7 separate regions of the Homo sapiens genome follow, and all the other regions are linked to region 6. Evidence: promoter capture Hi-C in 16 types of primary human blood cells and fetal thymus (Javierre and others, 2016). All regions are on one chromosome and are shown on one strand. Each heading gives the region's core, a stretch centred on a gene start or on the middle of the fragment in contact. The rest is flanking DNA. Distances are from core to core; before and after follow the strand shown. Region 1 has its middle 72 kb from the start of FASLG. Region 2 overlaps MRPS14 (mitochondrial ribosomal protein S14). Region 3 overlaps RABGAP1L (RAB GTPase activating protein 1 like). Region 4 has its middle 55 kb from the start of FASLG. Region 5 holds the start of FASLG (Fas ligand). Region 6 holds the start of DARS2 (aspartyl-tRNA synthetase 2, mitochondrial). Region 7 overlaps RABGAP1L (RAB GTPase activating protein 1 like).

Region 1 (2,744 bases), core at 139-2,638, 1.1 Mb after region 6:
GAAAAAAAAAAACACAGGGGAAAATCTTTGTGAATCTGGGTTAGGCAAACGTGGCATACTATATATAACCCATTTTCTTTATACAGTCAAATGTTCACCAACACTTAGGTTAATTCCATGACTTTGCTGTTGTGAATATGTTCATCAGAAATATTGGCTCATAGTTTTTTTTTTTTTTTTCAATGTCATTGCCTGATTTTGGTATCAGGGTGATACTGGTTTCATAGAACAAGCTTGGGAGGAATAGCTCCCCCTTAATGGTGTGAAAAAACTACGGTAAGATTGGTATCAGCTCTTCTTCGCACATCTGGTAAAATTTGTTTTTAAATCTGTCTGGTCCTGGGCTTTTGTTGTTTGTTGAAAGATTTTTTTTTTTTTTTTTTTTTTTTGAGACGGCGTCTCACTCTGTTGCCCAGGCTGGAGTGCAGCGGTGCGATCTCGGCTCACTGCAAGTTCCGCCTCCCGAGTCCACGCCATTCTCCTGCCTCAGCCTCCCGAGTAGCTGGGACTACAGGCGCCCGCCACCATGCCTGGCTAATTTTTTTTTTTTTTTTTTTTTTTTTTTTTTTGTATTTTTAGTAGAGACTGAGTTTCACCGTGTTAGCTGGGAGAAAGATTTTTCTTTATTACTGATTCAATTTCATTACTTGTTATTGGTCTGTTTAGGATTTCTATTTCTTCCTGGTTCAAACGTGGAAGGTTGCATGTTTCCAGGAATTTATCCATTTCTTCCAGGTTTTCTAGGGTGTACACATAGGGATGTTGATAATTCTGGAGTTGTTTTGTTTTGTTTTCTGACAAAGTTTCACTCTCAATGCCCAGGCTAGAGTGCAATGGCACAGTCTTGGCTCACTATGACCTCCCTCTCCTGGGTTCAAGCGATTCTCCTGCCTCAGCCTCCAAAGTAGCTGGGACTACAGGCACCCGTCACCATGCCCAGCCAATTTTTAAATTATTATTATTTTTAGTAAAGACGGGGTTTCAACATGTTGGCCAGGCTGATCTTGAACTCCTGACCTCAGGTGTTCCGCCCGCCTCCCCCTCCCAAAGTGTTGGGATTACAGGCATGAGCCACTGCACCGGGCCAGTTCTGGAGATCTTTTGTATTTCTGTGGTATCAGTTGTAATGTTGTCACCTTTACCATTTGTGATTGTGCTTACATGATTCTTTTTTCTTGCTTAAACTAGCTAGTGATCTACCTGTTTTATTTATCCTTTCAAAGAATCAATTTTTCATTTTGTTGATTCTTTGTAATTTTTTTTTGTCTGAATCTCATTTAGTTCTGATTTGATCTTTGTTATTTCTTTTCTTCTGCTAGCTTTGGGTTTGGATTGCTCTTGCTTTTCTAGTCCCTTGAAGTGCAAAGTTAGGCTGCTAATTTTAGATTTTTCTATCTTTTTTATGTAGGTATATAATGCTATACATTTTCCCTTTAGTACTACTTTTGCTGTTTCCCAGAGGTTTTGGTATCTTGTGCCTCTATATTATTTGTTTCAAAGAAAATTTGATTTTGGCCTTAATTTTGTTTACCCAAAAGTCATTCAGGAGCAAGTTGTTTAGTTCCTATGTACTTGTGTAAGTTTCAGGGTTCCTGTTGGCATTGATTTCTAATTTTATTTCCTTGTGGTCCAAGAAGACATTTGATATGATTTAAATTTTTTCGAAGTTGTAGAGACTTGTTTTGTGGCCAAGCATATGGTCAGTTTTGGAGAATGTTTCATGTGCAGGTGAGAAAACTGTATATTCTGTGGTTGTTGGGTAGGATGTTCTGTAAATGTCTATTAGGTCCATTTGGTCTAGAGTTCAGTTTAAGTCCAGAGTTTGTTGACTTTCTACCTCCATGACTTCTCTAGTTATGTCAGGGGAGTGCTGAAGTCCCTGACTACTACTGTATTGCTGTCCATTTCTTCTCTTAGGTCTGGCAGTATTTGTTTTATGAATCTGCATGCCCTGGTGTTGGGTACACATATATTTAGGATGGTTAAATCTGCTTGTTGTATTGAACCCTTTATAATTACATAATACCCTTTTTAGTCTTTTTAAAAAATTGTGTTGGTTTAAAGTTTGTTTTATCTGATACAATAAGGATGGCTACTCCTATTTGCTTTTGTTTTACATTTTCATGGTACATGTTTTCCATCCCTTTACTTTGAGTCCGTAGGTGCTTTAACCATTAAGTCGTTCTCTTGTAGGCAAAAGATGATTGGGTCTTGGTTCTTTTAATCCAGTTTTCCTAGATCTATAGTATATATATTTTATGTGGAGCATTTTGGCCATTTACTTTTAAAGTTAATATTCAATGTGTAGTTTTGTTTCTGTCATAGCATTGTTAGCTAGTTGCCTTGGGTCTCAATTGTACAATTGCTTTATAGGGTCTGTGGGCTTTCTTTTACATGTGCTTTTATGATGGCAAGTATTGTCCTTTTGTTTTCATATTTATGACTAATTTGATCATTTCTTGTAGGGTCAGTCTAGTGGTGATTAATTCCCTTATCATTTGCTTGTCTGGAAAAGTCTATTTCTCCTTCATTTATGAAGCTTAGTTTGGCAGGATATAAAATTCTTGGCTAGCATTTTCTTTTCTTTAAAGAAGTGAAAAATAGGCCCACTTTTCTCTTCTAGCTTGTAAGGCATCTGCTGAGAAGTCTGCTGTTAGTCTGATGGAATTTATTTTATCAGTGATTTGACATTTCTCTCTAGCTCCCTTTAATATTTATTCTGTCACATTGACCTTGGATAGTCT
Region 2 (2,863 bases), core at 70-2,569, 1.2 Mb before region 6:
TGTGAATCATGTAAACTGATCATGGTTCTCTGCTGCCTGCCAAGTAGCTTACAAGTCAAATTTATGTCCCAGTTCTAATTTCACAGCATGCACTTTTGTGTCCTGAGGCTTTTATCTTTCCTACTCTCATTTCTCTTTGCCCCAGTTTCCTCATTTGTAAACTGCCTTAAATCTTTCGGGGAACAAGAAGGAAGGGGTATGTATCAATCAATCAATCCATAATTTCTAGCCATTCTTTAAGGTCCACCTCCATGAAACTTGGCTTCAATCTTCTTGCCCAGTCATTTCTCCTCTCCAGTTCCTTGTATAGCATTTATTGTTTACTACTCAATGGCTCAATCATGGTTTTTTTTTGTTTTTTTTTTTTTGAGATGGGGTTTTGCTCTTGTTGCCCAGGCTGGAGTGCAGTGGCACAATCTGGGCTCACCACATCTGCCTCCTGGGTTCAAGCGATTCTGCTGCCTTAGCCTCCCGGCCAGATGGGATTACAGGCATGTGCCACCACACCCAGCTAATTTTGTATTTTTAGTAGAGATGGGGTTTCCCTATGTTGGTCAGGCTGGTCGCGAACTCTTGACCTCAGATGATCCGCCTGCCTCGGCGTCCCAAAGTGCTGGGATTATAGGCGTGAGCCACTGTGCCTGGCAATCATGTTGTTTTATGTAATTCTGTTAGTTCATAATGGTAACACATGCATAAGCTTTTGTTAATTTTTGGCTTTTATATACTTTCATTTAATTTGTGTTATTTTAATGTGTTATTTTGCTTGCACCGCAGTCTAGCACAGGGTCCATCTACTTGTTAGCACACTTATCAGATTAAAGTGAATATTATGAACACTCACACTCTTGAACACATACATAAGAAGAAATCTCTACTGACAAAACCTGAGCCCTAGCTACTGCTGTAATCCCTACTTTTCTCCCCTCAACCACTTTGCCCTTACCTGATTCATCCTCTACCTTGCAAATGATTTTTTTTAAATATAAACCTCATCTGATCTCTCCCCTTTACTTCTCTAGCTGTCAGAATCTTTACCATAGACATCAGGGCTCCATGTGATACTCTCCTTCCTCCTTCTCTAGTCTTATCTCAAGCCACATTCCCTCCTATTTGATCATCATTCCAGAGGTTTCACTTTCGTGATTCAAAAAACATGAGGCGGCAACAGAAATACATTCACATACTTTACAAATGAGTTAAACAAGAGTATGTAGCTGCACTATTTATATTCGCCCAAATCGTAAGATGACCATCAAATGTAGGATGGATAAATGAATTATGGTACTCATGCAATGAACATTACCTGCCAGTGGCCAGGCGCTGTGGCTCACACCTGTAATCCTAGCACTTTGGGAGGCAGAGATGGGCGGATTGCCAGAGCTCAGGAGTTTGAGACCAGCCTGGGCAACGTGGTGAAACCCCGTTTCTACTAATAATACAAAAAATTAGCTGAGTGTGGTAGTGCACACCTGTAATCTCAGCTACTCGGGAGGCTGAGGCAGGAGAATCACTTGAACCCAGGAGGCGGAGGTTGCAGTGAGCTGAGATTGTGACATTGCACAATCTAACACCCACAGCCTGGGTGACAGAGCGAGACTCTGTCTCAAAAAAAAAAAAAAAAGAAAAGAAAATTACCTGCAAGTGAGAAGGAGCAAAATACATGTGCAACAATGTAATGTGATCTGTGTAATAATGTGATTTCCCTTAGGATGTGGCTGATGAAGAAATTGCTGCCCTCCCCCGGGATAGCTGTCCTGTTAGAATCAGAAATCGGTGTGTTATGACGTCCCGTCCGCGTGGTGTGAAGCGGCGCTGGAGGCTTAGTCGTATAGTCTTCCGTCACTTAGCTGACCATGGGCAACTTTCTGGGATCCAGCGAGCGACATGGTAAATGAGCTCCAGAACCTATTGAGCTTGCAGGGAAGCCAAGCTTGCAGTTCCAGCAAGCAAAGATTTTTTTTAATAGACCAAACCCTAATCTCTACAGGGGCCCAGTACAGTTGTTTGGCCTACCTGATGCTATCTCTAAACTACTTTTAAAATGAAGACATTTGGGTGTTTCATGTCAGTGAATTATCTTTTCTCTTGGACTTAACAAACATACTGTTCCCATACATAGTACAAAGAGTAGCATAATAAATATTTTCTGTGAATGTTTTTTATACCCTCCTTTTAAGTTTAATCTTTTAGTAACATATAGGGGTTTTTGTATTAAGAGCATTATTTCATAAAATGCTATCTTATACATAATCCAACTAATTGACATGTAGCTCATGTATGGCAGTTTGTAATCCTGGACTAGCTTTGCTGACCTGCAGAGCTCCCCTTAACTATTATTGTTAGATAAACAGATTGGATAGCAAGGCTGCTGTTCTGGATTATCTAATGCTCCACTTCTTCTTGTGATGGCTGAACAAAAGAACCACTAAGTGTTTTCTTGTCCATCCTTAAGGGACTTTAAAACAAATTATGCCTCTTTAAGTCCTTGAAAGTCTCCATCTAAAGAGGAAAAGTTTGTTGGAACAGTATATATTCCCTATTTTTATGTTTATTTAATCCATAACAGAAATGAGTAAGGGTAGCACAAAGTTCTCATTCAGTAACTCAACAGTGTGATCATCAGCCCAGTGATAAAAATATACATACTGAATGGAAGTACCTACTTAACATCAGGAAAATATTCCTGGAGAACTTAATAAATCAGGAGGTGAGGGGTGAGATTTTTTTCTGCACACAGAGGGAACAAAAGCACAAAGAAGCAAAGGCACTCTGTAGCATCAGAGAACCACAGTCACTTCAGTAGATCAGAAATATGAAGCACAAGACAAGGCCCGTATTGTGGAGGATCTCACAAATCATG
Region 3 (2,894 bases), core at 124-2,623, 1.1 Mb before region 6:
TAATTTAGGGTCTTTCTATAAATTCTAAATGGGAAAAAACTATAAAGATGAATATAAAAATTATATTTAATCTTATCACCCAGAGATACCTAGCAGTAACATTTTGATGTATTTCCTTGTGGGCTTCTTCCCTATCTAGGTATACTATGGTCCCCTTCCCTATAGGATGACCCAATGCCAGCCAGTAGCCCTTGAAATTTAGATGCAAACATTATAAATGTTTACTGTTTACAGAAAAAAAAAAGTATTTTTTAAAAAAATACTTTATCATTATTTTCCCATTAACAAAAATTATTCCAGAAAGACATTTTACAGTCAAACTGTCATTCTCCCCTACTAGTGAACATAGATAAAATAATATTTCTATTTTTCATTCTTATAAGTAACACTGCAGTAAACAACCTTGTATATACATTTTTTTTAAACAGATCTTTTTTTTTTAGGATAGCTTTACAAGTCAGAGGATCTCTAGTTTCCTCATCTATATAGTTTCCTCATTCATGAAATGGAGGATTAAAATAATAACTGCTTCCTGGAGTCATTAGGGAGATTAAATGAGATGATGTTTATAAATTGCTTTATTTAGTGCTTGGCACATAGTGGGTACATAGTAAAATTTAATTTTATTATTGCTTAAACCTTTTAACGTCTTAACACATATTACCAACTACATTTGCCAAACAACTTTGAAACTCTCCTTAGCTCATTTCACTGCATCCCCACTGAATCCAACTGTTTAAAAATTGTTTCATTTAGTCAGCCATCATAAGAAAATTATTAATGGATAAAAGATTCAAAATGGCAGAATCAAGTGTGAATCAAGACCATTTGGAAAGTTAACATAGAACCAAGACTTTCATTATAGCACTGACTTATCTCAACAGTCTCATGAATACAAAAATATGACCACTGAGGTAAGGCTGAATTGACCCTGATTGAATGGAGATCCGGCTACCTTCTTTGGTTCTGACTCTCCTAGTCACATATTTCTCATACCACTTCTCACAGCTTCCAAATGGGTGGGCTGAATGAGGTTTGTGGTTAACAGGGCCACAACTTTTTAAAAAACCATTCTCTGGGCAGCTTTTTCTACCTTCCATATCCTGTGTCCCAAACAACACAGTTTTTGTTTTTGTTTTTGAATTCCCTTTAGTGCCAGCTCTCTCAGCTACATCTAACATTTAATGAACACATACTATCGAAGTGTTTTACTTATTTAATTGTTATATCATCTCTATGAGATAGACACCTTTTTATACCTATAGACAGCTTAAGAACTGTCCAGGGTCATATGGTTCACAGTGGTGGTGCCAGCATTCACAATCAGGCAGTCTGGCTCTCAGCCACTCAGATGCCTATCAATCTAACAATCCAACTCTTAATGTAGGTACTTCATGTAAAAGTTCACATTTATTATGGAGAATAATTCTTACTGGAACAAAAAGTAAGGCATCTACTGTTAGAGTGGCATTAGTACAGGCATATTCTTGGTGACTGATGTTCTCAGATAATTATGCTGACAGCCATTGGTTCAGGAAAGGTATCAACAAAGACATAACAGAGTTTAGAGGTATAAAGAAAGTATGTCACACATGCTATTTAGAAATGACCCAAACCTTTCTCAAAGGCTTATGTTTTCCATGGTCTCCAATTAACAGACTGTCCCTGCCACTTGTCCATTCCTCAAGAACAAAGTCAAGAACAAAGCAAGTTTGTGGGGGCGGTGATGAGGGCAAATCGGTCTTTGCCCTGAGGAAGTCATCACAGTCTCATTTCTAAGGATTACCTGATCCAAGTCATTCCGTAGAGCAATTTTGCTTGTTACTAGTTCATGGGCAAGGTCATCATTCTCTTGTTCCAACCTCATGCTGGCCTCCTGTAATCTTCGGTTCTCCCTCTGCAGAAGAACAATAGCCAGAGGTGGGCATTAGTGTCTGGACATACAGAAACGAACAGAACTGGTGAGGAAAAACAAGCAACAAAGTGAACTTTCAAAGGTGTAAAAAGGAGAAGGCGCAAGTGGCACAGGAAGGCAGGATTGCTGTCTGGGAAACAACAGTGAGTTTAGCTAGCAATGCAGATGCGGTTCTCTACCCGGTGAAACTGGTCCCTTAAACTCTCAAGATGGAACTTCATTATAAAAAATGTGCCACAAAGAACAAACTTTCTGAGCATATCCCCCCCAATCCTGTGAGGTTTTTACATAGATCTAGAACACAGACACAAACAATTCTTTATTTGAAACATGCACGGTAGTCTCACCCTTGACCTCAAGAGAAACCACAAGACACAGTAGGAATGAAACAGGGGAAAACCACCAGACATTTCTTCAAATTGTTTTTCTAAGACAGGGTTCATATTGAGTATATTTAAGAGCTCTAAATCAAGAATCATGACACATGGGTTCATGACTTTGCTAACAGCTGACATTTTTATTCTTTGAGTAAGAATATATTTACTTTTCTGAACACCTATTTTTGTGTGAGAGCAACAGTCATAAGATATCTAGTTTTTTTGTTTTTTAAAAAATTTCAGATTAAAACATTCTGGGTAAAATAAATTACTGAGGATTTCTGCTCCCAACCTTGAAAAATCTGAAACAAAGTTACATGATAAAAAAACAAACAAAAAAACGAAACAAACAAACAAACAAAAAGAAAGAAAAAAAAAAAACCAAGTCACTAATTCTTATGAAGCAAGGCCTTTCCTTAACTAAACACTATGAACTTGGTATGTTCACAACTATTTTCAGAATAGCTATTTCATGTCTTCCATTCCAAAGTATCAAAATTGCTTTCTTTGCTACTGTTAACAGTTATAGGAGATTCAAAAGAGAGCTGACAGGAAAGACTAATGTCATGAGACCTTCCTGTTTTTCAGATTTACACGTCTAA
Region 4 (2,892 bases), core at 249-2,748, 1.1 Mb after region 6:
TTCCAGTCCATAGGGCATCCCCTTGGACCACATTTGAGTCAGAAATATACAACTGTTCTTTCTACCTTTCCTCAACAGCCTTCTCTCCAAAAGTCGGTAAAAATACTTAAACATTATAATCCACTGGACAAAAATCCAGTTGTCCTTGGTTATATTTCAACTCCAGACCAACCCAATCCAGATAAGCAAAGCAGAACTGGCAGTCAAGAGTGTATGGAGGTCATAAGAAAGACACAGAAGCCAGTCCATATGAATTAAGACAGACTCTCATCAGTCCTGCATGGTTAAAACTTGTTCCTATTACATAGTTGATAAATAAAGTAATTTCTCAAAGAAACCTTGGACATTATGAAAAAAGAAGCAACTAGGAGTCCACTTAGCAACTTCTCAGAAGTTATTAAATATGAACAGATACCCACAGTACCACTAGGCTGTGTACACAGAAGGATGAAAGATGATGTTGGTTGACTTCTCCATCTCTTGCAACCTGTTTACAACTGTTAATTCTGTAATTCATGCTTCAAAATACTCTAAACTTTGAAGTGATACTATATTATCTAACCTATAAAATAACAAAATGTTAACAGAGTAACGTAGATTGACTAATTCTTAAGGTAAAGAGTCTGTCCTGAAAAGCATAATAGTGTGTCATTCAGGTGATTGGTAGAAAGGAATTGTCATAATTCTCAAATAGATTATTTTTCCAGGATTTAGGCCTCTTTCCTTTAAATGACAGTGATCCCAAGAAAACCAAGAAAGTGGTTAGTGCCTCAGTTAAATGCTGTATAGCCAGTTTTGAAATTACTTAAATATCAGTAAAAATGCATATGTGAAGAATTGTCTTCAAAAAGAAATCACAGACTTCAAAATCACTAGTATTGTCTTTTTAAATTGTATTCTATTTATTATCAGAGGGAGGTTGATAGTTTACTTCGCTCTCAGAATTTTGCACCTTCAAATAGTGTCATTCTCATCTAATTTTTTTTTACTTTTACATTTACATTTAAGGAATCTTTGTTTCTGATCTTGAGATGTGGAATGAGGCTAGAGAGATGGCCAGATTGTCAGAGATCCTCTTAATGTTGTTTGGTATCTCTGGGGAATTAATAGAAATATTGTGGACTAAAGAGAGCTTAGAAAAGTGCTCTAGATGACTTCTACAGTGAGTACGGCTATTTTGGATACTTAAGCTTCATGAAGTACCTTCATAAAAAGGAAAAAAATGAATTTTAAAGGAGGCTTAGGAAGACAAATCCCAATGCTAAAAGAAAAGGCAATATAATTAAGACTATGCTTTCAAAAGCTGAGGTAAATTATTTGGGGGTTGGTTTTATAGCTCTTTCTCTCTAGAGAATAATATAAAGGTACTTCAATATATAGATTTCTGCCTGTGCTAGCTATCATCCAAGAATGACTGGCAGATTCCCATGGGTAAAAATCTCCCCTAAACAAATTCACATACTCAGGATCAGCAGGAGAGCTTGATTCTGTCCCTTCTTTTCTTACAAGCTGAGGAGGAAAACAAGAGGCCCATGCAAATTAAGTCAGTGTGCAAGCTACCATTTTTTCTTGTTAATCACTGGCTAAAATGAATAAAACACTTAACCTATTATTTGGCCAAATTTCAAAATCCCTGAATTATAGTGCAGTGTTGATATCAGTGGGTGAAAAAGCAGATTTTCTTTCCTGCCTAATTCAGAAGGTGGAAATTAGATACACTTTACCTTAGCAAGAGTCAGCCAAGTTTTTACCTCTTAGCAAGATCAGTGGTTCTCTATGAGCACTGGAACCACTTGGAAAGCTTGTGAAAATGCACAATACTGGGTCCCACAGGGATTTTGATTCAGTGTATTGGGAGGCAGGTCTAGGAAACTACATTAGAAACAAACACCACAGGCGTTCTTCAGTCCACACTTTGAGATACCCTTTTATAGAAACTTTATCACCCCATAGGTATACACAAAGCAGCTACAAATGATCCATGTGAATGATGAAATGATAGTACATTTTTGGCACAAATAAAGATTTCTTTTATTTTTCTTCTCCTCCATCCCCTTGTCTCACTATTACTTTTCTGTCTTCTCACCACCCTTTCTGTCTTCCTGCTTTTACACTGTTTCTTTCACCTCTGTCTTTGCACTGTCAGCTATGAATCATAAAAAAGGAAAATGGAAGCAGAAGAAAAGGCCTCACTTGTCTGGACTTTCTGAGTACCAGACAGTCATTCACTGATGTCCTTAAATTTAAGAAATTTCAGTGAATCAGGTGCTGATGATATAATGACCTTAATATACAAATACATGATTTTTTTATTGCTAAAAGTGTTGAAATCTCCACAAAGCAAAAGATTGGAGAGATAAAAGACAAGGAAATTCTATGTAATCAATTTTATATATTACTTGTTAGCATCTCAGAGAAAGACTTATTGAAAGACTGAAGCTAGAGAATAAGAATACCAATAACAAATTCATTCACTCATTCTTTCATGTATTCAAACATAAAGAATTATATTTCTATCTTCTTTGCCAAGGCATGAGAGAAAAGTGAAATAAGATGTATTTTTCATTGTTGTTAAAAAGTTATTCGATAAATAATTAAAAATCAAGATAACAAAGAAAAGCAAATGGAAGACTGAAAGTGTTTTTACAATATAATGTTAACTTTTGTTCTTGTTATCTAAAACTGAAGGATCTCTGTCATAATTCACAATTATATCTTTACTTAAGTCACTCAATCAATATTGGGTTGACTCTTATCAAGCTCCTGACAAAATTAAGTGAAGATGGGTTATCTTACCCACTTTCATTTCTCAGAGTTATTACTTATCAACTGATGTCCATATATCCCAAGGATCCCATGGATAAAATACAAGGGGTTCATGAACTCAGATGG
Region 5 (2,819 bases), core at 19-2,518, 1.2 Mb after region 6:
ATTTTGAATTGTGTGCAGTGCTCAGCTATATTGATTGTGAGCAATTCAATTCACTTCACATTTTTAAAGCAGCTCAAGGAATCATAGACCAGAGATTCTGAATTAGCCAGAATTCCTCTTATAGTGTACAGAAACCAAAGTGTGGGACAGAATTTAAGGCATTCCATTAACATAGTTCTGTGCTGAGGATCATCTTTGGGAACTCAATGTACATGCGAAAAAAGACTCACCTATTTGCTTCTCCAAAGATGATGCTGTGTGCATCTGGCTGGTAGACTAGTAAAACAGAAAGAGAAAAGATGTATAATAAAAATAAAATTCTTTAAGCAAAAGAGGCAGAATCGTCAAATAAACCAAGCCCTGGAAAGAGAATCCAAATACCTCAGAAGTTCTGCTAACTTGGGCTTTGGCCAAGCAATTTTGCCTCACTGTCCCTCAGTTTTGTGATTTGGAATCGTACCAATTTTCAAGATTTAGTTTGGTCATCTGAACAAATTTACTTCCAAGCAAAACTTAAAAGTTTTGTTTGTTTGTTTTTTACTCCTTAAATCAATAGGTATGAGGCAGTAAGTGGTTCAACAGACTGAGTTGACAACTGAGGAAAGACAAACTGTTGGGCTCTGATTCTTTACAAAGTAAAAAATATTCCCTTCACCCCTATGAGCCTCCATTTCTCTGTCTATAGAATAGAATAACTAGAACAACCCATTTCTAAGAAAAAAAAAAAAAGGATTGAAAAGCACTTTGCAAGCCAGGCAGTGGGCCCTCCATCCCCTTATGCCTGGTGCCTCCAGGGCACAGCAGTCTGCCGGCAGGCTTACCTCTCGGAGTTCTGCCAGCTCCTTCTGTAGGTGGAAGAGCTGAAACATCCCCAGGCCCAATCCTACCAAGGCAACCAGAACCATGAAAAACATCACAAGGAGACACAGGCCTGTGCTGTGGTTCCCTCTCTTCTTCAGGGGTGGCAGCGGTAGTGGAGGCAGTGGTGGCGGCGGCGGCGGAGGTGGTAGTGGTGGCGGTGGCGGTGGTGGTGGTGGCCTCCTTTGACCAGGCCTTCTGGGCACAGAGGTTGGACAGGGAAGAACTGTGCCTGGAGGGGCCCAGGGAGAGCTGGCACTGCTGTCCACCCAGTAGATCTGGGGATATGGGTAATTGAAGGGCTGCTGCATGGCAGCTGGTGAGTCAGGCCAGCCCCAGCAAACGGTTTTACTTCTTCTCAGTCCTGTAGAGGCTGAGGTGTCAAGGACGGGACCCTGTTGCTGACTGCTCAAGAGGAGGCAAGCTGGATCTCTCTTATAGAGTTTCCATAGCTAAGGGAAACACCTCTGTCTTTCTCTTTCTCTATCTCTCTCTCTCTGATTCTGCTTCTCAAAGAAACACCCACTCACTTTGCAGCTGAAGCTGAGAAGCCTCAAGAAGCTCAGAGCAAACCCCTGGAAGTTTCCGCCCACAATTTTCTGATAACAGCCTTCAAGGCCTCAGTTGCTGTCGCTGTGCTACCCAAACAGGTTAGTAGGCTATGCTCACCTTCCTGGGATCCTGCAGAGCAGGTCAGCATGGGGGTATAGCCCTGTTAGTGTGAACTGCTCCCAGCTACAGGAGAATGGTCAGTGGGGCTATAATTTTATGAATTATAATTGCATGCTTTTTTATACATTATAATTGTATAATTTTAAGAATTCTACCATATACACAACCAAAAAACTATTTAAAAATCCCAAAATAACTCTAACAAAAATTGTTCAGAACCGTATTTTTTAAACTATAAAAATTTTACTGAAAATGGCTCTGAGGGGAGAGACCATGGAGTCATGGCCAGAGAAGTCACTCCCACATTTTAGTTTTTGCAGGAGGAAAACATCTGTTGCCATCATCTCTTCCCCACACACAACTACCATTTACCCTGACCTGCCGATCACCATAATTTACAGGTTAAAAACCTGCTACACCCACTTTAGAAATTAGATCAGAGGCTGCAAACCAGTGGAACCCACAGAGCTGCTTTGTATTTCGCAATGTTTTCATTTTCATTGTTTGCCCAGTTTATTTATTTACTTATTTATTTAAATAGAGACAGAGTCTCACTCTGTCACCCAGGCTGGAGTGCAGTGGTGCTATCGTAGTTAACTGCAGCCTCAAACTCCTGGGCTCAAGCAATCCTCTTGCCTTGGCCTCCTGAGTAGCTGGGATTATAGGCATAAGTCACTACACCTGACTAATTTATTCTTTTTTTTTTTTGTACAGATGGGGACTTGCTATGTTGCCCAGGCTTGTCTCAAACTCCTAGCTTCAAGACATCCTCCTGCCTCAGTTTCCCAAAGTGCTGGAATTACAGGCATGAGCCACTGCACTGAGCCCAACTGACCACTTTTAATATCAACATTAAAAATATTTTAAAATATATATATTAAATACACATTAAAATACATATTTCTATTCTGTTTTGAAATATCAGAATATCAGACACCCTCGAGGCCATCTCTGCAAACCCAATCAGTGGGAAGTATGTAGCAGCTGCCCCTGAGAATGAGAGACAGGAGTTCTGGGTCACCCAGCCTCCACCACTGGCCTGTGTCTCACACACCACCTCACTATCTGAAAGGCCTGCCTGGTCCCTGCCAACATTTCTGTGTGCTGCCCCTGTTATGGTTGCCAGATGAAATACATGGTGCCCAGTTAAATTTGAATTTCAGATAAATAATACATTATTTTTAGGACAAGTAGGTCTTAAACATGTCCAAACATGGAATATACTAAACAATTATTCATCATATATCTGACATTCAAATCTAACTCTGTGTCCTATTTCTTTGTTTTGC
Region 6 (3,071 bases), core at 291-2,790:
TCGCTCTGTCGCCCAGGCTGGAGTGCAGTGGCGCGATCTCGGCTCACTGCAAGCTCCGCCTCCGAGGTTCACGCCATTCTCCTGCCTCGGCCTCCCCAGCAGCGGGGACTACAGGCGCCCGCCACCACGCCCGGCTAATTTTTTTTTTATTTTTAGTAGAGACGGGGTTTCACCGTGTTAGCCAGGATGGTCTCGATCTCCTGACCTCGTGATCCGCCCTCCTCGACCTCCCAAAGTGCTGGGATTAACGACGTGAGCCACCGCGCCCGGCCGAAGAAGGATTTTTTTAAGGCATCAACCAAAAGCAGAGTATTCTATATATTACGTGGTTACCTTTTTGTGGTCTTTCTAAAAACTCAGGGAAAAAAAACTGCCGTATAATGAATATAATGAGAGTGAATTTCGCTTCTACACATAAGGCTATCCAGTTAAGAACAGGGGAAAAGCCGGGCGCGGTGGCTCACGCCTGTAATCCCAGCACTATGGGAGGCGGAGGCGGGTGGATCACGAGGTCAGGAGATCGAGACCATCCTGGCTAACACAGTGAAACCCCGGCTCTACCAAAAATACAGAAAAATTAGCCGGGCGTGGTCGCGGGCGCCTGTAGTCCCAGCTACTCGGGAGGCTGAGGCAGGAGAATGGCGTGAACCCGGGAGGCGGAGCTTGCAGTGAGCGGAGATCGCGCCACTTCACTCTAGCCTGGGCAGCAGAGCGAGACTCCGTCTCAAATAATAATAATAATAATAATAATAATAATAATAATGGGGGAAAAAATGAAAAATGGAATAAAAGCTCTCCGGCCGTAGATAACAGGCTGAAGTACTGTTCATAGGATAGATCTCTTCGCTATTTTCACCTGGAATTCTCCTCTGTGAACTCTGCAACAGACTTCTGTAGAGAGAACCCCAGATCGGTTGGGTGGTCCTTCTGATGGGTCTGGATAAACCCCTGTACAGCTGACTTAACCAAGAAGGGAAGTACATGTTGGAGCCACACGATGGCGAAAAACAATCACGAAATCCCACGCTGCCGGTAGTTAAAAGTCAGTTTTGGAAATACACAGAAATCCCTTAAAATTCCAGGAGTTCCCACTCTCTTCTCGAATATTTAAGGCCTCCTCCGCACAACATTGGAGTACACGTGTCTAGAAACAAGACAAATCTCCAAGGTCTCTGGGGTGCTTGCTGGGGTGGAGATAAGGGAAAGACCTCTCCCTGAGTCTTAAAGCATCAGTCTGCACTTCTACTCAACAAGTCGGCAGCCAAAAGTGACGACGAGAGAGCGACTCCACGTAGCGGCGCCAGGCGCGAGCCCAAGACAACCAGAGGCGGTCACAAGGTATACGCCCTTCTCCTCTTTCCACGCTTCTCGAGAGGCTCCCGCGGCCAGAACCGGAAAACAAGGAGTAACAGTCGCGTTTCAAATCTCGCAGACCTGCTGGCCGATTTCGAGTCTTCTGAAAGAGGAAGGCGAGCAAAGCCAAAATTCTCCCAGAGCGCGAACCCAAACACAGATCGCCGCTGGGGTCCAAGCGCCCTTCAACTCCGCCCGCTAGTGCCCAAGATTACCGGGAAGGAATTCAACGAATCAGTGGTGAGGTGCCGCCGCCATGCCTACTACGGGCGGAAATTTGAGAGAAAGCTTCGCACCGGTAGGAAAACTGAGGAGCAACCGAGCACGATTGGAAAGGTTGACGATAGTGGTTAAGTGGCTCGGCCTTGCCCTCAGTTAAAATGGCAATTTTAGTTGCTTCACTGATACGGAATCGGCGAGGCGCCAAGGAGGCTTCCTGCGTGGGGCCGCAGAGCGAGTCGGGAAACGATTTTAAACTGAAGAGGCGGCGGAGGGCCGAATTCCCTTTTCTCAACGGCTTGATTTCAGAGCTGGGCTGGTCTCTGACAGGCTCAGCTGGAGAGGGACGGGTTGGGACGCACTGTCCTTTTGCCCTTCCCCCTCCGCGAGCAGAAGCTGACTCCGCAGGAGCGAGGGTCGCAGAGCTGGGTGAGCGGAAATGTCCCTCCCAGAGTGAAGTCGCAGGGCCCGCCCCGCGTCTGAGGGAGCGGAGGTCTTCCTGGGTGCGTTTGTGTCTCTTGTGAACCCACTTGTGGAGCGAGAGGGAATTTGGGAGGGCCAGGGGTTAGTCTGGCCTCTGTCTTAGCTGTCATTTTGGCGGTTTTTTTTTTTTTTCTTCAGGGGATTTCAGTCTCCACATAGTTTTGGAGCCGGACTTTTGAAGAATGATTCGTGAATCCGGAATGGGTGACAGCGTCATCACGGCATTTTATTGGTAAAGATGCTTTGTATTGGTCCCGGACCTGCTTTAACTTTGTATTTGCCCTGTTGTGTGGTCATTATCTTACAATACTTGCGTGTTGAGGTGTGTTTAAACACTACGTGCTTAACACTGGCTAAGTATTGGCATTGGGGCGGTTGGATTTAGGTATTGGTGGCAATGTAGAAAAGTGATCAAGTCAGAGCCCCTTCACGGACTAATCACAAGAGAAACAACAAAGCTTTACTTGTGTGCTGTGAACCACAACTGCAAGTGGAATTGTCAAGAGAACTAGCCCTGCCAAGCTCAGGAAAACTTCTGAGGAGATGGCACATGGAAAATGGATAAGATTTACTGAGACAAACGGGAGTAGAGAAGTGTTTTTAATTGGCGATAAGGTGAATAAAAAGGCAGGGAGAACAGTAGAGTGATCATCTGTCTAGAGTAGGGGGTGCATGTTTGGGTATAGGGCTGTCATTTAACCTCTTAAAGAATTGTCTACTGGAACTTTCTTCACTCCCATCCCCCCACCCCCCAATGTTGTATACAAAACCTTAGAGGAAGTGTATGCAGAATGTTGGATTTTGGAAAGGCTAATGTCGATGGATCTTGGGGAAGAACTGAAGTAGTAGAAAATGAACCTGGATAGGATCAGATAATAAGATCAAATACAGTAGTGCCTTGAAAGCCAGACAGGAATTCTGATTTGACTTCATATAGATGTGTGGGAACTGTTATGGGATCTCAAGCAAGGTAATGATAAAAGTGGTGACAATGAAAGACTGATGATGGATTAGGG
Region 7 (2,847 bases), core at 209-2,708, 1.2 Mb before region 6:
TTAATATCAACAAATGTTATTGTACATATCTAATAGTAGTTTGGTTGGTTTGAAAGGATCAGAGGCCTCCAAAATAGTTTATAAAATAAAAATAGTTTTGCTCTTATCAAATAATTTCCTGCAAGGACTATTTTTATAGGCATGTTAAATATAATTGAAAAAATATTTCCACTAATTTTTAAACAATAGCTTTACCTTTCCATGAGATAAGTATTTCTGTAAAGGTTTTATATTCAATCAAAAATGTTACAAATGCATTTGTATCTCTTTATGGGTACGAAGGACACATTTTCAGGGAACTACAGAAATCAGAAAAAGTTGCCCAGCATTAAACTAAGATGATGTGAGCCTGACCTCTATTTCCCATTTCAATACTATGTCCTTTAACAAAGTTACAGTATTGTTAGTGTTTCCTTAGCAAGTATATATCAACGTTAAATGAAATACTCTGTCCCTGGTTCTATATTCCACTCTATTCAGCACAATGGCTGAACCTGGGGCTTTTTAGGCGTCTCTGGTAAAGGCTCCCTAAGTCTGTAAGGTGCAATATCCACCTTTAACTTTATAATTGCCAGAAGTCACATCTGTGTCCATACTTTGGTGTACTTAGGAACTCACAAGTCCTATGTGGCATTCTTAAAAGGATCTGTTAGAATACCACAGCCCAAATGATCCTGACCTACACTTATTAAAATTTCAGTTCCTTTTACCTAGCGTATAATCTGAACAGCCCGTCTATTCCTGGCACTTCATTTCCAGATGTACCGAACAGAAAATGAAAGTAAACCAATGATCGCTGATTGGTTCTTTCCTTTGGACAGGATTAACACTTCCCTGGGAATCAGGCTCAGGAGGAAACCTGAGAGTGGTCATGCCTGGCCCCACAGTGTGCTTTATCTGAATAAATCCTGAAAACTTAAGATGTTTAGGTTTCAATTTTTTTTTTCCTGTGACAAAGATCTTCTTATCACTTCAACCTTGGAATAACAGATGTCTCCATTTTTATGTAAGATAAAAATAATTATGAATAATTCTAAATAAAAAAGCATTTAGTTCTGAATTACTTATTTCCAACTAAACATCAGGCAAACAAAATAATGTGTAATACTATGATGGATCTGAACATGGCCTTCCAGAAGCTGGAAAATAGGTATTCAACATAGAACAGGTCAGTTTAAATAGCATCCCTTTGAAAAGTGTCATACAAGAAAGAGTGAGAGCTACTGAAAAATTCTGGCTTGTTTTCTGGCCTCCTTGACTTTCCTTCAAAGGGACACCAGGAAGAATCCTCCCAGATTTCCATTGGTTTGAACATTGTGCTCTTGTGCTTGGGTAAGGCTGGAACTATGTGCTCTCCTTGGGTGGCTGGGTGACCGGTGCTGGCTGCAATGGCTGGGTGCCCGTGGCCGTTTTGATAGAGTTCAGGGTTTTGCTAAACCAAGAGTTTTTCGCAGCTTGGATTTCATTCATAAGGGCTCCTCTCTGATGTTCAAGTTCCTAATTAAAGCAAGAAAATCATCTGAGTTAAATAAATGTTTTCTCTTTGCCAATAAATAAATAAAAGTGTGCAGCTTTTTGGAGTCTCAAGGTATGTGCTGCCAATTTTCCTCCCACAAAACCCAGGAGAGATTGAATTGGCTTCTTAGTACAAGGATAAAGTTAAGAGCTAAAAGACTTATCAAAAATCTAGAATCTGTGCTTTCTTTAAACAGTGAAAGAAAAGCTCATTTTATTCTTTTTTTCCCTGCAAGTTAGGTCCAAATTTAGGTTTAGGTTGCAATCCGATATAACAGGTTTAAAAACCACAAATAAATGTAAACATATGGATGAATTTTTACTGATAGTAGAAGCATGAATGAATTCCAGTTCCAAAGAAATAGGCTTTGCCCTAAGAATGTCCAAGGTCAGAGCAGACACATGGTGGAAGCTGGCTGGTGTGGTGGAGGCTGGTGACATGGCAGCCATGGTGCTGGTAGGGATCACTGGGAAAATGAAATGAAGAAGAGTCCATCAGAAGCCAGGACTATTTCTAATTATATTATGCGCCAATATGGAGAAAGATAATGGGGAAAGAGGTTTGACAAAATGAGCTAAAGATAAAAAGAAGCTCTAAAGGAAAGAACGGGTGTCAGCCAATGTGTGACTCTCAGGGTAGACACAGCAGAGGGGGTTTGGTTTTTCATTTTCAGGATCAGCCACTGAAGTGACCACATTCTGTGAGAAAGGATGTAAGCAAAAAATCTCAGGGTAAAAAAAACAAGCATATGCTTAATTAAATTCCCATAAGATATAATTTTAATTATTAAAATTTCATTTAAAATTATATATTTGTTTATATCAGCGTTAAGAATACATGATATAAAATGTGATTATGCAGGACACATTAGCAGACAGAAAATGTATTCATCATACAATTCTGACCTAGATAGGTGTATTCTGAAGTACTAGAGTATCCTGGACCATTAATTGTTTATTCTTTCTTCTTGTTCTTTTATCAAATCACCAACCTGAATTTTACACTTGGCCTCCACCAACTGCAGTTTGGTTTGTGCCAGTTCCAGTTCCATCTCTCTCAGCTGCTTCTTAAGTGAGTCCTTCTCATCATCTGTTTCAATTCCCTGGTCCTCTCTGCCTGTGGCTGCTAGTTTCAAAGCACCCTCCTTGCTGAAAATGTCACTGCAGTGTTTGCATGCCATCATCTTACCCTAAAGTATCCAAAAGAGATAACCAACATCAAACTATTCCATAGGCTAAATCACCTTCTGAAACAATTTATGACTTTTTTAGATGCTGCTTATTGTCATAGATGCAGGCCCATTTCTGAAGGTTAATTATTTTTCTTGTGCT

What was found. The method cuts DNA at HindIII sites, captures the fragments that hold promoters and counts their contacts. A CHiCAGO score of 5 or more calls a contact.
Region 1: a fragment that was not itself captured here is called in contact with the fragment with the promoter of DARS2 in region 6 in 8 of 17 cell types (total B cells, naive B cells, naive CD4 T cells and 5 more); the score reaches 13.7 in total B cells.
Region 2: a contact is called between a fragment that was not itself captured here and the fragment with the promoter of DARS2 in region 6, in 1 of 17 cell types (neutrophils). The highest score is 9.0, in neutrophils.
Region 3: a fragment that was not itself captured here is called in contact with the fragment with the promoter of DARS2 in region 6 in 1 of 17 cell types (neutrophils); the score reaches 5.6 in neutrophils.
Region 4: a fragment that was not itself captured here is called in contact with the fragment with the promoter of DARS2 in region 6 in 2 of 17 cell types (total B cells and naive B cells); the score reaches 5.7 in total B cells.
Region 5: a contact is called between the fragment with the promoter of FASLG here and the fragment with the promoter of DARS2 in region 6, in 6 of 17 cell types (naive CD4 T cells, total CD8 T cells, activated CD4 T cells and 3 more). The highest score is 12.6, in naive CD4 T cells.
Region 7: a contact is called between a fragment that was not itself captured here and the fragment with the promoter of DARS2 in region 6, in 1 of 17 cell types (neutrophils). The highest score is 11.2, in neutrophils.

Annotation. Positions count from the first base shown.
Region 1 is chr1:172,729,606-172,732,349 of GRCh38, reverse strand. No RefSeq gene overlaps it. Among named protein-coding and RNA genes, the nearest start is that of FASLG, 72 kb to the right of the region's middle. The HindIII fragment of the contact is 2,306 bases long and covers 236-2,541 here.
Region 2 is chr1:175,013,700-175,016,562 of GRCh38, reverse strand. It overlaps MRPS14 (mitochondrial ribosomal protein S14), which reads left to right. Exons shown (of 3, transcript NM_022100.3): 3 at 1,712-2,863. The coding sequence ends at 1,894. Among named protein-coding and RNA genes, the nearest start is that of MRPS14, 8.3 kb to the left of the region's middle. The HindIII fragment of the contact is 1,233 bases long and covers 703-1,935 here.
Region 3 is chr1:174,968,280-174,971,173 of GRCh38, reverse strand. RABGAP1L (RAB GTPase activating protein 1 like) reads right to left here. Exons shown (of 26, transcript NM_001366446.1): 21 at 1,787-1,897. Among named protein-coding and RNA genes, the nearest start is that of RABGAP1L-AS1, 15 kb to the right of the region's middle. The HindIII fragment of the contact is 6,694 bases long and covers 1-2,894 here.
Region 4 is chr1:172,712,994-172,715,885 of GRCh38, reverse strand. No RefSeq gene overlaps it. Among named protein-coding and RNA genes, the nearest start is that of FASLG, 55 kb to the right of the region's middle. The HindIII fragment of the contact is 611 bases long and covers 1,193-1,803 here.
Region 5 is chr1:172,657,552-172,660,370 of GRCh38, reverse strand. It overlaps FASLG (Fas ligand), which reads right to left and starts at 1,268. Exons shown (of 4, transcript NM_000639.3): 1 at 822-1,268; 2 at 231-276. The coding sequence starts at 1,169. The HindIII fragment of the contact is 3,765 bases long and covers 1-2,819 here.
Region 6 is chr1:173,823,142-173,826,212 of GRCh38, reverse strand. It overlaps DARS2 (aspartyl-tRNA synthetase 2, mitochondrial), which reads right to left and starts at 1,540. Exons shown (of 17, transcript NM_018122.5): 1 at 857-1,540. The coding sequence starts at 983. It overlaps CENPL (centromere protein L), which reads left to right and starts at 1,330. Exons shown (of 6, transcript NM_001387287.1): 1 at 1,330-2,001; 2 at 2,194-2,287. RefSeq lists enhancers at 1-158, 800-1,317, 1,024-1,583, 1,318-1,836, 1,814-2,053. The HindIII fragment of the contact is 2,471 bases long and covers 1-1,643 here.
Region 7 is chr1:174,988,499-174,991,345 of GRCh38, reverse strand. RABGAP1L (RAB GTPase activating protein 1 like) reads right to left here. Exons shown (of 26, transcript NM_001366446.1): 25 at 2,508-2,705; 26 at 1-1,497. The coding sequence ends at 1,345. Among named protein-coding and RNA genes, the nearest start is that of CACYBP, 10 kb to the left of the region's middle. The HindIII fragment of the contact is 8,943 bases long and covers 1-2,847 here.